Regions from separate parts of the Homo sapiens genome. Here region 2 is linked to region 1. Evidence: promoter capture Hi-C in 16 types of primary human blood cells and fetal thymus (Javierre and others, 2016). All regions are on one chromosome and are shown on one strand. Each heading gives the region's core, a stretch centred on a gene start or on the middle of the fragment in contact. The rest is flanking DNA. Distances are from core to core; before and after follow the strand shown.

Region 1 (6,147 bases), core at 2,572-5,071:
ATGATTGGGTCAAACACAACCATTGCACAAGGGAGCAAGCAGCACTGGGGAAGAGAATTTAAAAGGGAAAGATTTTCTCTCTGGAAATTCTACATTGAGAGAGCTTCTGTGCTATAACTCTATAAGGTTCTATGTTCTCTTTTTGTAACAGAAGCCATTGCCTTGTATTAAGACATTAATAAGAATTAACTTTTTGTATAGATGAGTTTAAGAAATAACCTGCAAAACTGCTAATACAGGTATAAGACAGAATGCCCTTCTGCATTGGCAGTCACTACAGCAGATTTGGAAAACTAGAAACCTGTGGGCTAACTTTGGCCTAAAACTTTTTTAGTGTCCAGAAAATGCTTATTAAAATTTTTAACTTAAGTGTTACAGAATAAATATTAGGAGATTTACATAAAAATCTTTGTTTCTCAGCTTTAAAAAAAAACAGAAGATCTGGCAACATTGGGCCACCTTATGTTCACCTGGCAACAATCAGCTGAACCAAGAAATCACTGAGCCCTTTAAACCTCCCAGCTCACTACCGTCCAGCATCTTCAGTCCCTATGACATTGTATCTGCCCTCTTTCACTCATTTGGATATCCAGTGGTCCCTGAAGGCATCTGAATTGGTGACCTCTGTACCAAAGATGTGAGAAACAGTCATTAAATATGCAGCAACCTGGAATGAGGGGTGGCCCAGCATTTGAATGCCAGAGAAGGCCTTGATAGTCACATATCCTTTGCCAGCACTGTATACTAGACATGAGAGATGGAGCAGGCCCTGCATCAAATTCCTTTTAGCCTTTTTCCTGCACTGAACTGTCTTATATGACAGATTTCTTCTCAGTTATTAAATCTAATCCATAGCTACTCAGTGTATATAAGGACTGGAAGGACATTTAAAGAGCTGATTCCGACCCTGCCTCTCCTGGTTATGTTAGGCAGGTTGCTTTTAAATAAATGGGGGTCTCAGTTCCTCCTTCATAAAACTAATGTGTCCACCTGGAATCATCATGAAGATCATTTTTAGTTGGGCTGTCTCCATCTATACCACCTCCAACTTATCTAGAATCTACTCAACCCTCAAGAGCTGTTCAAGTTCTATCACCTCCATTAAACCTCTTCAGACTTCTCCTTTCTTTGAATTTTTGAGCTTATCACCAACACCGTCCAAATTAGCATTTACTAATTTTCTAATTGCTTTGCTTTGACTATACTGGTTCACTTGCCACACTGAAACAGAAAATTCCTCTAGAGACTTTACAGTTTAATTTTTAAATCCTCTACCGCATGTTATACTTAACTGGTATTCAATGATTATTTAATTATTTAAACCAGATAAAGATACAGAAAATATGTATAAAATGGCAACCTTCCCAAAAAGCACCTTTCATCAGCCTCCTCAAAATAAATTATCCTAACCAGCATCATAACTTGACCATCTGATTCAGGCAGGCGTAATGTGTACTATGCCTGTGAGACATCAATGAAAAGACACTGCTAGATTACCATATTACTTTGTACTTGATCATTTCCTCCTTCCACAGTTGAAAAGCTCAAAAGGGGAAAAATACAAACAACCATTAACTCACTACAATAATATATTAATCCGTGAAAGATTTGTTACCCACTAAAATAGGGCATGAGAAAAATTTTCCTATTATAATTTTTAAAAAAAGTCAATTACTAGTAAGAAGCTACAGGTCAGATATTTGAAAACTACAACGAAAACCATCCTTACTCCTCCCCCACCCGCTTGGATGTCATCAGAAATTCTGAGTAAGAGTAGGCCAAGTTAGGATATCATGTGGGTGGGGATTTACCCACATTCACCGGAAAAGCAGTGGGATACAGGTTTTACTTGTTCCGGTCAAACCTCCCTTCCCCCTCACCTCCCAAATAATTAAGGCTTTAGCTATGTGCTCAGTCCTTTACTATCAAAAAAAAAAAAAAAAAAAGAGAGAGAGAAAAGAAAAGTTCAAGTACAGAATTATTTTTAGATTATAGTCCGCTTAGAGATGAACTATTTGAATAAGGTTTCTACTTTTGGAAAGCGGAGAAAACTAGGTAGTAAAGCCTCTATTTCCCTTCTAAGAGTAAACTTTTTAATCCAATTTGATGATTACCTTAATATCTCTACTACATGAATTTAAGATAACACTGTATCACTAAAGTAAATGAAATTAGCAAGCGTTAATCACGTCTTAACAGCTAGCCAATCTTAGTGGATTGAAATTAAGTCAATTTACAAACTGTTTTCCTGTGATGGAGTAACACTTAATACAGGTGTTTCCACTTAATCCAATTCATTCTGTAATTCACATTATACACCTACTATGTTTGAAGGTCTGAATCAAAAAGGAGTGTACCCGTACGGTGGGGAAGGCATTTATTGGGAGGGGAGGACATGGAATCATGGCCCTAATCCATTTAAAATAATGAAAAATACTGATTAAATATCTATAAACTTTCCCGGGGAATCCCAGTAGAACAGAACATGGTTTTATAAGCTGAGGGTAAAAACAAGCGTCTCAGTTTTTTTATTAAAAGAACTTTTTTAAACTGCCTTTCAACAGTTTGAAAGCTTTCAATGGTTTGTTTTATCTGGTGTTTCTGATCAACCAATTAATCCATCCTCTGACAGGAACCCATCTGTCAGTCTATCCACACACAATCTGAAAGGGACTCCAGATTAGGCTCCCTCTTTTAGCCACGCCTACACAGGAAGCATCCTGTGGATGGAATGGAAAGTATGCCAGGCCTTTGCACGCCCCTCACGCCCCCATCTCCTTCGCTTAACCTCGACAGCCTCTTACCTTTAAACCCTAGCTAGGTTTTCACACAGCCCTATCAAATAAAAAGGACAATACTCAAACTGAATTAGAGAATGAGAATTGTCGAGGTTTCTTTTAATTTAGATCAATGCCAGTTTTACTCTTCTTCTAGAGTCCTTTTTAAGGAGATATCATCCCCACCAGTTGTGATCCCAGAGAATCACAACAGGGCATGGCGTAGGAAAGACCTCGAAGCTCAATTCTCTATTATACCATGCCCACCATACGAAAGGCATTTAACCTCCCGCGTGATTTTGTCCTTAAGATGCTCCACAAGATCTAACACAACTCCTACATCTAAGAGTCGACTCACTAATTTCAAGGGTTTTTGTTTTTGTTTTTGTTTTTATAAGCTCTGCGTGTGGCACCCGATAACTTCAAGTTTAGAGTGAGCAGTTTCCTCCCAATGCCGTTTGCTCAACTACAGTACTAGGAGTTTTGAGGAGCAGCTCTCTAGCGAGTCCTCCTGCTGCGTCCTCCCCCACACGCACGCACCAAGTTCCACAGCTTCCGCAGCCGTCGGGGAACAAAGTCCTTATTTGGTCACGGCCATCCCCTTACATAGTGGAGGTGGAGATCCTCCTCTCCAAGGACCACCCGCGTAGGGCGAGATTCCCCAATTCTGACTTTTCACTACTATCCCCCACAGGGGCGGGGCTCCAACTCCAGGTAACCAGACCAGGCAACCTGGACTTCCAATTAGCAGGGGAGTCCCCAAGCCAGCCTGGCCAATCTCGGCCGGCTAGCCAAGACGACCAGACGTGACGTCAGACATGATTAAGTTGGCGCGTCACCTAGACGTCAGCCTCTTACCTCTCGGACGTCCCGTCCCAGGAGCAAAACTCTAGTGACTTTGGGCCCGCCCCCGTGAGAGTGGAGGGCGGCCGATGAGGGCGGTTCTGAAGGGAACAAGACCAATGAGACGAGCCCGGGGCGGGGCGCGGGGCCGGAGGGTGGGGCGGGTGGCGGCGGTGGCAGTCCGAGGTCTGGCTCCGCGCAGTATATGACAGTACGTCAGCAGCGGGATGGCCCTAGCAGTGGCGGCGGCTGCAGAAGCCCAAGCAGCCGCGGCCGCAGTGGAGGCTAGAGCCGGAGCGGCGGCGGCGGCGGCACCCCGGGGAGTTTAAGATGGCGGCGGGGGGGACAGGGGGCCTGCGGGAGGAGCAGCGCTATGGGCTGTCGTGCGGACGGCTGGGGCAGGACAACATCACCGTACTGCATGTGAAGCTCACCGAGACGGCGATCCGGGCGCTCGAGACTTACCAGAGCCACAAGGTGAGCGGGCCGGCCGGCAGGCTGGGCTCAGAGAGGCAGAGCGCACCCCTCACGGCCTGGCCGCGCCCGGGTGCGGGGCCGGCGGAGCCGTGGCTGGCAGCTGCTACCGTCAGCGCCCGCAGCGGCCAGGCAGGGCAGGGCCGGGCAGGGTGGCTGACGCCGCGGTCCCGGGCTAGCCTGGGCGTTGGGGAAGCGGGCAGTCGGGCGGCCCCTGGCGGCGGGGCCGAGGCAGCCGCAGCCCTGGGTCGGCTGCGCTGCCGCTGCGGGACTTTCCGACGGCCCCCGAGGATTTCCTGGCTTGTTGGGTCCCAAGGAGGGAGAGAGGCCCCGATAAGAGAAGTGAGATGACCACGCTACCCTCGGCGGGGAAGGAGGGTAGCGAGCAGCGTATGGGCAAGGAACCAGGGACGACTCGCGGGCACCAGCTGCCCGCGTTTTCCAGTTACATAGGCACGGTGGATCCTCAGAGACAGGACACAGGCGCTCCGCGTGTGGGGGTGGGACCTTGTATTCCCAGGGACTTGGGGACACAGGCGCTCCACGTATCAGGGGACACACTGTGTGCTCGAAGGGATGGGGACTCGGGCGCATGGTGAGGGGCACACGGTGTACTCATAGAGATAGGGACTTAGGCAGTCCGTGTAAGGGGGCGGCGCACACTGGAACGGCGGGGACACTGGCGCTTCGCGTACGGGGGGGGAGGGGACACACCTGCATTCCCAGGGACTCCGGGACACCGGCGCATCGCGTTACTGGAGACGCGCCGCGTCCAGGACGGACACAAACCAACACAGTGCCCTGGGGAGAGACCTGAGGACTCACGCACACTTAGCGCTCCCCGGGAGCAAGACATCGGGTTCTGGAGAGAGAGGTTCACGGACGCTCAACGTACCCGAAAAAGCTCCCGGCGTCTTGGGCTGACTCTGGGAAGTGTAAACGGGGAACGAGCCAGAGCCAGAAGGTGTGGGGAGGATACAATGCATCCCGGGCAGAGACTCGGGCCTCTCACCCCTCGTTTTCGAGAGAAGCCCATGGACACACACACACACATATACACACACACCCCTCCAGTACAGAGAGAGGCTCAGATAGGCGCACATACACTGTAATTGGACTACAAATCCAGACGCTTTCATGTTGGAAAAAAAATGGGAGAGACAGGGAAGCACCGAGAAGGGACGCGGTAACCAGGGTGCATGGGGAAACAGTTTATGGACATGCAGTACTGTGGGAGACCGGAGTGGATACATCGCGTGAGGGAGGGATATGCCATATGGGGGAACCTGTAACGTTTTACAGGAGAGGAGAGAGTCGGAAGGGAGATAGAACCCACGGGGCATCTTACAAATAGCCCGTTCGGTACTGAGGAACACACTCCAACCGGTCTCGTACAACAGACAGAGGGGCAGAAGGACACCGAGACACAGATTCACATAGTTATTCAGCTAAAAGTGGGGAAAAGAATTGACATCTGTTGAGCTCCCACTAGTGCCAGGCACTTTAAATACATAGAGCGAAGGCAGAGTCTGAGGCAGAGCGGCAGGAGAGGTGTGAACCCTGGTTTACTGGGAGTGTATTCAGAGAGCCCCCCCACCCCATAAGTGTGCACACAGAGGAAGGCATTAGTTGTGCACGCTTTGGATAGAAAATGAACTCACATGATAGGGTATTTGTAAACAGCAGTGGAGGCTCAGAGGTGAGTGTATTGTTAGGAAGGTACTCACAGAATTGGGTGGACACATGAATGTACGTGCTAGGACACTTGTGTTACTAACCAGAGAAGCATATGGTGAAAAGGACTCACAGACTTTGTGTGGTGGGGTGAGGGGGCGTCAGGGAGGAGTGCATGCACAGGGAGAAAGGTACCGTCCTACATACAGTGAAATCTCGAGAGAAAATCTCAAGAATGGCTGGGAGAGATACAAGAAATAGAAAACTGCATGTGCCAATAGCTACTCTTAGATAGGTGCACCTGCAGTGAAGAGACCAGCATCAGACGGAGTGGGAGGCCCATATGGGGGAAGCCAGAAACACAGGCAGAGGGACAGAA
Region 2 (6,147 bases), core at 2,555-5,054, 270 kb before region 1:
AAACTAATAAATCCCTAATTCCCATATCAGACAAAAGTAGAACACAGATATTACCCCTACTCCCCCCAAAAAAGGCTAAACTCACATTTGAATAAGACTTATATAAGCAAAATTCTAGCAGAGACAAATCACATGATACTAACACCAATACAAAGGTTCTAGGGTAGCTCACCATTCCAGAACCCTCCTCTCAGGCCATACTTCTCTCTCCTTGCAGAATTAGCCTCTTTAGGGCCACCTAAGCCCATAACACAAAGATATGAAACCCCACTGTGGACAGACCTGAATCCATTTTGGTTTCTGTTAAACATCAGTGATTTCAAGTCACTGAAGGGGAGATGACTGTCATCTAACTTCACTTACCAGAAGAATCTGGGTTTCAGCTGCTTCTCTTTGAGAAATGCTGACACAACTTTAGTTGTAATATACAACCAAAACAAGAGACAGGCTATAGGATTCAGAGGAAGAAGACAGTACTTCTGACTGGACAAATGAAGGATCAGGAAAGAGGCCACGGCATTTGAGCTGGCTTTTCAAAGACAGGGTTGCATTATCACACTACACATGGACAGGAATGTAACAGAGTACTTTATTTCACAGTCAAAGAAGAACCCAGGTCCAGTAAGTTATCATGGTCATAAATACACAGTATTGTCTAACTTAGGGCTGCCAGATAACATATAGGCCACCCAGTTCGATTTGAATTTTAGATAAATGATTTTTAGTATAAGTATGTCTGAAACATGCAATATTTGGGGAGAAATCACCACAGGGCCAGGAGTAGATTATCAGAAAGTTCAGCAGAAATGCTTTCACGTGCATTTTGGGCATTTGGAGAATGATTTGTATAGTCTTTCATTCATTCCTTACTCCTTAAATCCTCTTAAAAATTCAGCGGGATTCACGGAAGTGCCTATTTATGCACATTTCAGACCCACTCATGCTGGGCAAAGGAAAGGGAAGACTCTAGAGTCCCCGAGGAGACAGTACTAGACTAGAGACAAATTTAAGTAGTGAGCCTTGCTCCTGTCTCTACCAGGACACAGGGTGCACCAAGCTCTTGGAACTGGCAGATTCACGGGGGACCAGGTCAGGGTACAAACAGCCAGGCCAAAGACAGAGAATCCAGGAGTTTGGCAAAGACAGCCATTTTTCCTGGATGCATCACTGAATTATGAGTTTTAAAGGAATTGCAGTTACCATTATGGTATTTGGGATTTCCACAAAACTGTTAAATATTTCCCAAGAGGAGCCAACTCCAAAAATAGCCACAGATAGATAGGTAGATAGATGGATGGATGGATAGATAGATAGAGAGATAGATAGATAGACAGACAGACAGACAGATAGACAGACAGACATAGAGATCCTGGTTACTTAATAAGAAGTAATTATAACATTCCAATACATTTTCAATGCTATCGAAAAGCAAAAGAAATTACAAGAAGAACTGTTGATCTTTACAGCATTTTCTCATTCCCCTGGCAGAAATCTGGGACCTTGTGATCTGGAATAGGGGTATCCATGGTCTAGGATGAATTCTAGTATCCTCAGGCAGATCTGGGAACCCAAGTTACTCGCAGAGGAGTGAACTGGAAGCGGGTGTGGAAAATAGGCTCCGGCTCCTGAGTGACTTCAAAACAGAAGGATTTTCAGAGGCAGGGAATTTCTGAGATTCTAAGGAGATTTTTAGAATTTTCTTCCCCCAGAGGGAGGAAACTAGGTCATGTGCTCTTAACCCAGTGAGGTTTAGGGCCATGGTGTGGGGAGAGAAAAGATAGTTGACCTTAATTAGCTACAAAAAAAGCCCAGAACTCTTGGGATTAATCCAAAATCAAGCACAACTTCTAGTGGGGAGATTCAAGCTCCCAAATTCAAGTATTAGTAGAATGAAGCCAAATCTAGGACAGCTCCTAAATAATTACCATTAAACTAACATTCACATGTTGTAAGAACTAAATTTATCCTCGCCACAGCTCCTATTTATAGAAAAGGCTCAGCCACTACCAGATAGCAAGCTCTGTGAAGGGATGGACTACGTCTGTCCTTTTTACTGCTGTATGCCCAGGGAATGGAAAGTAGTTGTTATATAGCTGATACTCATTAAAGCTTTGTTGAACTGAATTGTTCAAAGCCACACAATGAGTTAGTGTGAGAGCTGGGATTTTAACCCCAATTTGACACCAAAAACCATGCTTTCATCTATATTACACTGCCTGCCAAGGCAGACTTAGACTAGAAATGATCCCAAGGCAAACTCCTGCTCTGGTTCTCTTCCTAAAGCTCTCCTGGGGTCCACCAAGATGAACCAGGAGAATCACTTGGAGGGGCACCTTTGGGAAAATTTATGAATCTAGAAATTGTGGCAGACACTACTAGTTGTCTTTCAAAAATCTATTTTTTCCATTTGCCTCTTGCTAAAAGAAACTTGATTTATTCAGGTAACGAAGTTCCCATTTTTGAATACTTTCTTGAAATATTTGGTATCTTCATTATGATAATCATTGCATAAGTGTACACACATATCAAAACTCACCAAAATGCATACTTTCTACATATGTAATTTATTTTATGTAAATTATACTTCAATAAAGCAGTAAAACACACACACACATACACACATACACAACCCACACACACCTCCCCAGACTTTGTTGTAATACATTTCTGGCCAATGAGATATAAACGTAAGTCTGCTGGATGGAACATCCATTAAAGTTATTATTTTACTGGAAAAAGAGAAAACTTGTCTGGATGAACATTTAACTTTTGAATTTCCCTTTTCTTTCTGCATAGAAATGGAACAGCTGTCATGAGAGAATGAGGGCAAAATTCACAAGCCAAGGCTGGTGGAACAGGAAAGCTAGAAGGAAACTCGGTCCTTCATGACTTTCTTGAGAGGCTGCCCCAACTGTGGCCTGTCCATCTCCTGACTTCTTATTTTGGGAGGAAAAAAAATTCCTGTTTGGTTGACCTGATTTAGTATGGTTTGTGTATATGTCGCTGCCTGCAATTACCAAATGACAATATTCCCATGCAAACTGTAAGGCAGATATTACAATGCCATTCCTCAAAAATGTTCAATTGCTGTAGAGTAAAATCTAAAGCATCTCTAGCCGCATTCCCTACTACGGCCTTCCATGAACACTTCCTTCCAGCCCCAGCAGGCTGTTTGCCATGTTTCAAACAAGCAATACATTTTAAGACTAATGCTTTTCTCTCAACCTGATACATCCTTTCTTCCATAAACTTTGACAGACCCTGAAAAATTCAAAGAATTGATGCAGGCTACAGTTAGCCAGTGGAAGACTTGAGAGGAAAATTTACATTTCCTGAATATAAGCCAAGTGATCTTTGTCCTATGTACCCACTTCTTTGTTTGTGTGTGCCCACTTCTGAAGCAGGGAAATCAAATGCTCTAACCAAAGGATCTAATTTATTCTTGGCTTTTACTTAATATCAAAAACTCTCACTTTAAAAAATAATTTTTTTTTGCAATTATGTAAGAACAAAAAATCTTATCTACAACGTCATTAGAAAAAAATTAAGATTATTAAAATTTTAAGATTATTTCTTCTTGTTCTACAGTGTCTGATTATACACGAAGATATAAGGTTTCTGTTTTATATATGTAATAGAACACATATGTAAATATGTTATCTTACAGTCGAAACTATACAGGCTAATTATTGTGTTCTAACATGCTGTGTGGTAGACAAACACCCAAGTTACTGACCAAAATATTTTGTTTCTAGAGCTACTTATTAAGTAACTAGGAGAAAGTAATTAAACCTTCCAGTTCATCCATCTGTCAAGGAGAGAAAATATTGTATCTGCCATCTGTCCAGATTTCAGTTATGGAAAATATTGATGAGAGGAGCTAAACCAATATAGGGCTTTATGTCAACTCAATTAAAAGAGTTAATCCATATTGAATGTTCTGTTCTGTGAATCAATTTTTTTATTTTTGTTTTTTGAAGTATTTTAAAATACAAAGAGTAATGTAACACAAGTTACTTGCCACATAGACCTAACATGTTAATATTACTCCATTTTTGCTTCCTATTTACTTATTCTTTTAATAAAGTGTTCTAGATACAGCTAAAACTTGAATCCCAGTCCTATATCTTTCCTCTCCTGTTTCCTCAGAGGTGTTCTGAAGTTTTAGGGAATCAATTCCACGAAAGTTTGCATAATTTTACTAAATATGTATCCATGAATTAAAATAGTATTTTGGGGTCTTTACATTTTATATATTTGATATTGTATCTACATATAGCAATTTGCATTTTACATTGAATATTTTGGTTTTTGAATTTTTAATACTAATAGATGCAGATTGGTTGAAGTGCTTCATTTTAACTGTCAAATAGTAATAACCCACAGTTAATTTGTTAATTCCCTTACTGGTGGGTTGTTAGGTTGTTTCCCCTTTTTTACTATTCCAAGCACTGCTGTAATAAGTATCTGTGTTAACATATGCAAGTGTTTCTCTAAAATATAGTACTGTGTTTTGAAGTAGAATTGCTATACACTTTGTGCATTTTTACAAACTTCCTCTAGAAATTTTCATTCATTTCTAGACAAATTTGGAGTAAATTAATACTTTTATGAATCTCTCTATCCATGAACATAGTATGCTCTCCAATTGGCTTAGAAAATAATCTATTTTATGTCTTTAAATAAAGTTTTGTAATTTCATGCATGAAGAAAGGAAAAGTTTTTGTGAGATTTTTAATAGGAACCTTATAATTTCTCTTTCTTTCTTGGCCCCAACTATCCCCCTCAATTTTTTGTTCTTTTTAAAATTGCATTTATACAAGGTTATGCTGTTATACACAAATTCTACTGAGTTTTTCGTATTAAATTTTGATTGTTAATTTTGTATTCTGCAACCTTGCTGAACACCATAAATTCTAAAACAATCTTTTCTCCATAGATTTTCTTAGGTTTTCCAAATGTCCTTTTCTGCAGATCCCCATAGATTTTCTTGCAGACAACCATATTTGTGGGTAAGGACAATGTTATTTGTTTTCAATCCTTGTAGTTTTTATTTATTTGTTCTATGTTATTTTGTTAACTAGGACTTCCAGTATCACACACAGTATAAGTTGTGAAAATTGGCCTTTCAATTTTGTATCAGTTTTCTCTATTTGCATCAGAGTCACCTAGTAACATTTTTAGAAATGCAGATTCCCAGCTTCCAACACTCTCATCCTCCAGAGATATCAGTTCATAGATTTAGGGTGGGATTGATCAATTTCAATTTTTTGTAAGTATCTTCTCCCCAAAATTCTGATGGAAATTGACCCCGGATAAAACTTTAAGTACTTTTCTAGCTAAATATATTATGTATGAAAAGTTTATTGTTATTTATATTGAATCTCCAATATTTTAGTTCTTTTACCACCAACACATACCATATTTTCTTTAAAGCACCATGGACCTATTGGCACCCCTTTCTCCCCAGTCCAGCCCTGATCAGAAAAAAAAGCTTAGGATCCACTTGCAATTGGGATTGGCATCATGAACCAGTTTTCATTTTCCAAAACCTACCGGTAATCTCCTCAGTTCTGATATCCAGCTACAGTATGGTATATGTTGGTGGTAATGGAAGCTAAATAACTTGGCCACTGCCAAAATTCAATGTGCTTTTTTTTTGCCTTTTTATGTTTTTATTTCTAGTAATAATTGTTGTTCCACAATGAAGATAATAAACAATAAAGTATTACCCAACACAATTATTTTTATATTATATCATAATTATTCTAACAGCTTTATTGAGATATAATTTATACCATAAACTTCACCTGTTTAAGTGTGTTTAAGTGTACAATCCAATGGTATTTAGAATATTTACAGAGTTGTGCAACCATCACTCAAATCTAATTTTAAAACATTTTCATCATCTCATAAAGAAACCCATCCCCATGAAAAATCACTTTCTATTCTTTTCTCCCCTTCTCCTGCAAACCCTGGTTAAGCGCATTATTTTCTGCCTCTATAGATTTGCTTATTCTATTCTGTTTTGTGAATACATGAAATCATACAATATGTGGTATCTTACGACTGGCTTCCTTCATGCAACATATTTTTAGGTTCATCCATGTTGTAGCATATATCAGCACTTCATTCCTTTTTGCGGCC

The links. The method cuts DNA at HindIII sites, captures the fragments that hold promoters and counts their contacts. A CHiCAGO score of 5 or more calls a contact.
Region 2: a contact is called between a fragment that was not itself captured here and the fragment with the promoter of ELL2 in region 1, in 1 of 17 cell types (endothelial precursors). The highest score is 5.4, in endothelial precursors.

Annotation. Positions count from the first base shown.
Region 1 is chr5:95,959,525-95,965,671 of GRCh38, reverse strand. It overlaps ELL2 (elongation factor for RNA polymerase II 2), which reads left to right and starts at 3,821. Exons shown (of 12, transcript NM_012081.6): 1 at 3,821-4,097. The coding sequence starts at 3,951. LOC101929710 (a long non-coding RNA gene) reads right to left here and starts at 3,671. Exons shown (of 5, transcript NR_130776.1): 1 at 3,636-3,671. It also overlaps a transcript of CAST not described here. RefSeq lists silencers at 3,265-3,732, 3,688-3,927, 3,998-4,407 and an enhancer at 3,212-3,969. The HindIII fragment of the contact is 3,633 bases long and covers 2,575-6,147 here.
Region 2 is chr5:96,231,296-96,237,442 of GRCh38, reverse strand. The region is part of intron 1 of LOC101929710 (a long non-coding RNA gene); the gene reads right to left. It also overlaps a transcript of CAST not described here. Among named protein-coding and RNA genes, the nearest start is that of MIR583, 160 kb to the right of the region's middle. The HindIII fragment of the contact is 3,385 bases long and covers 2,112-5,496 here.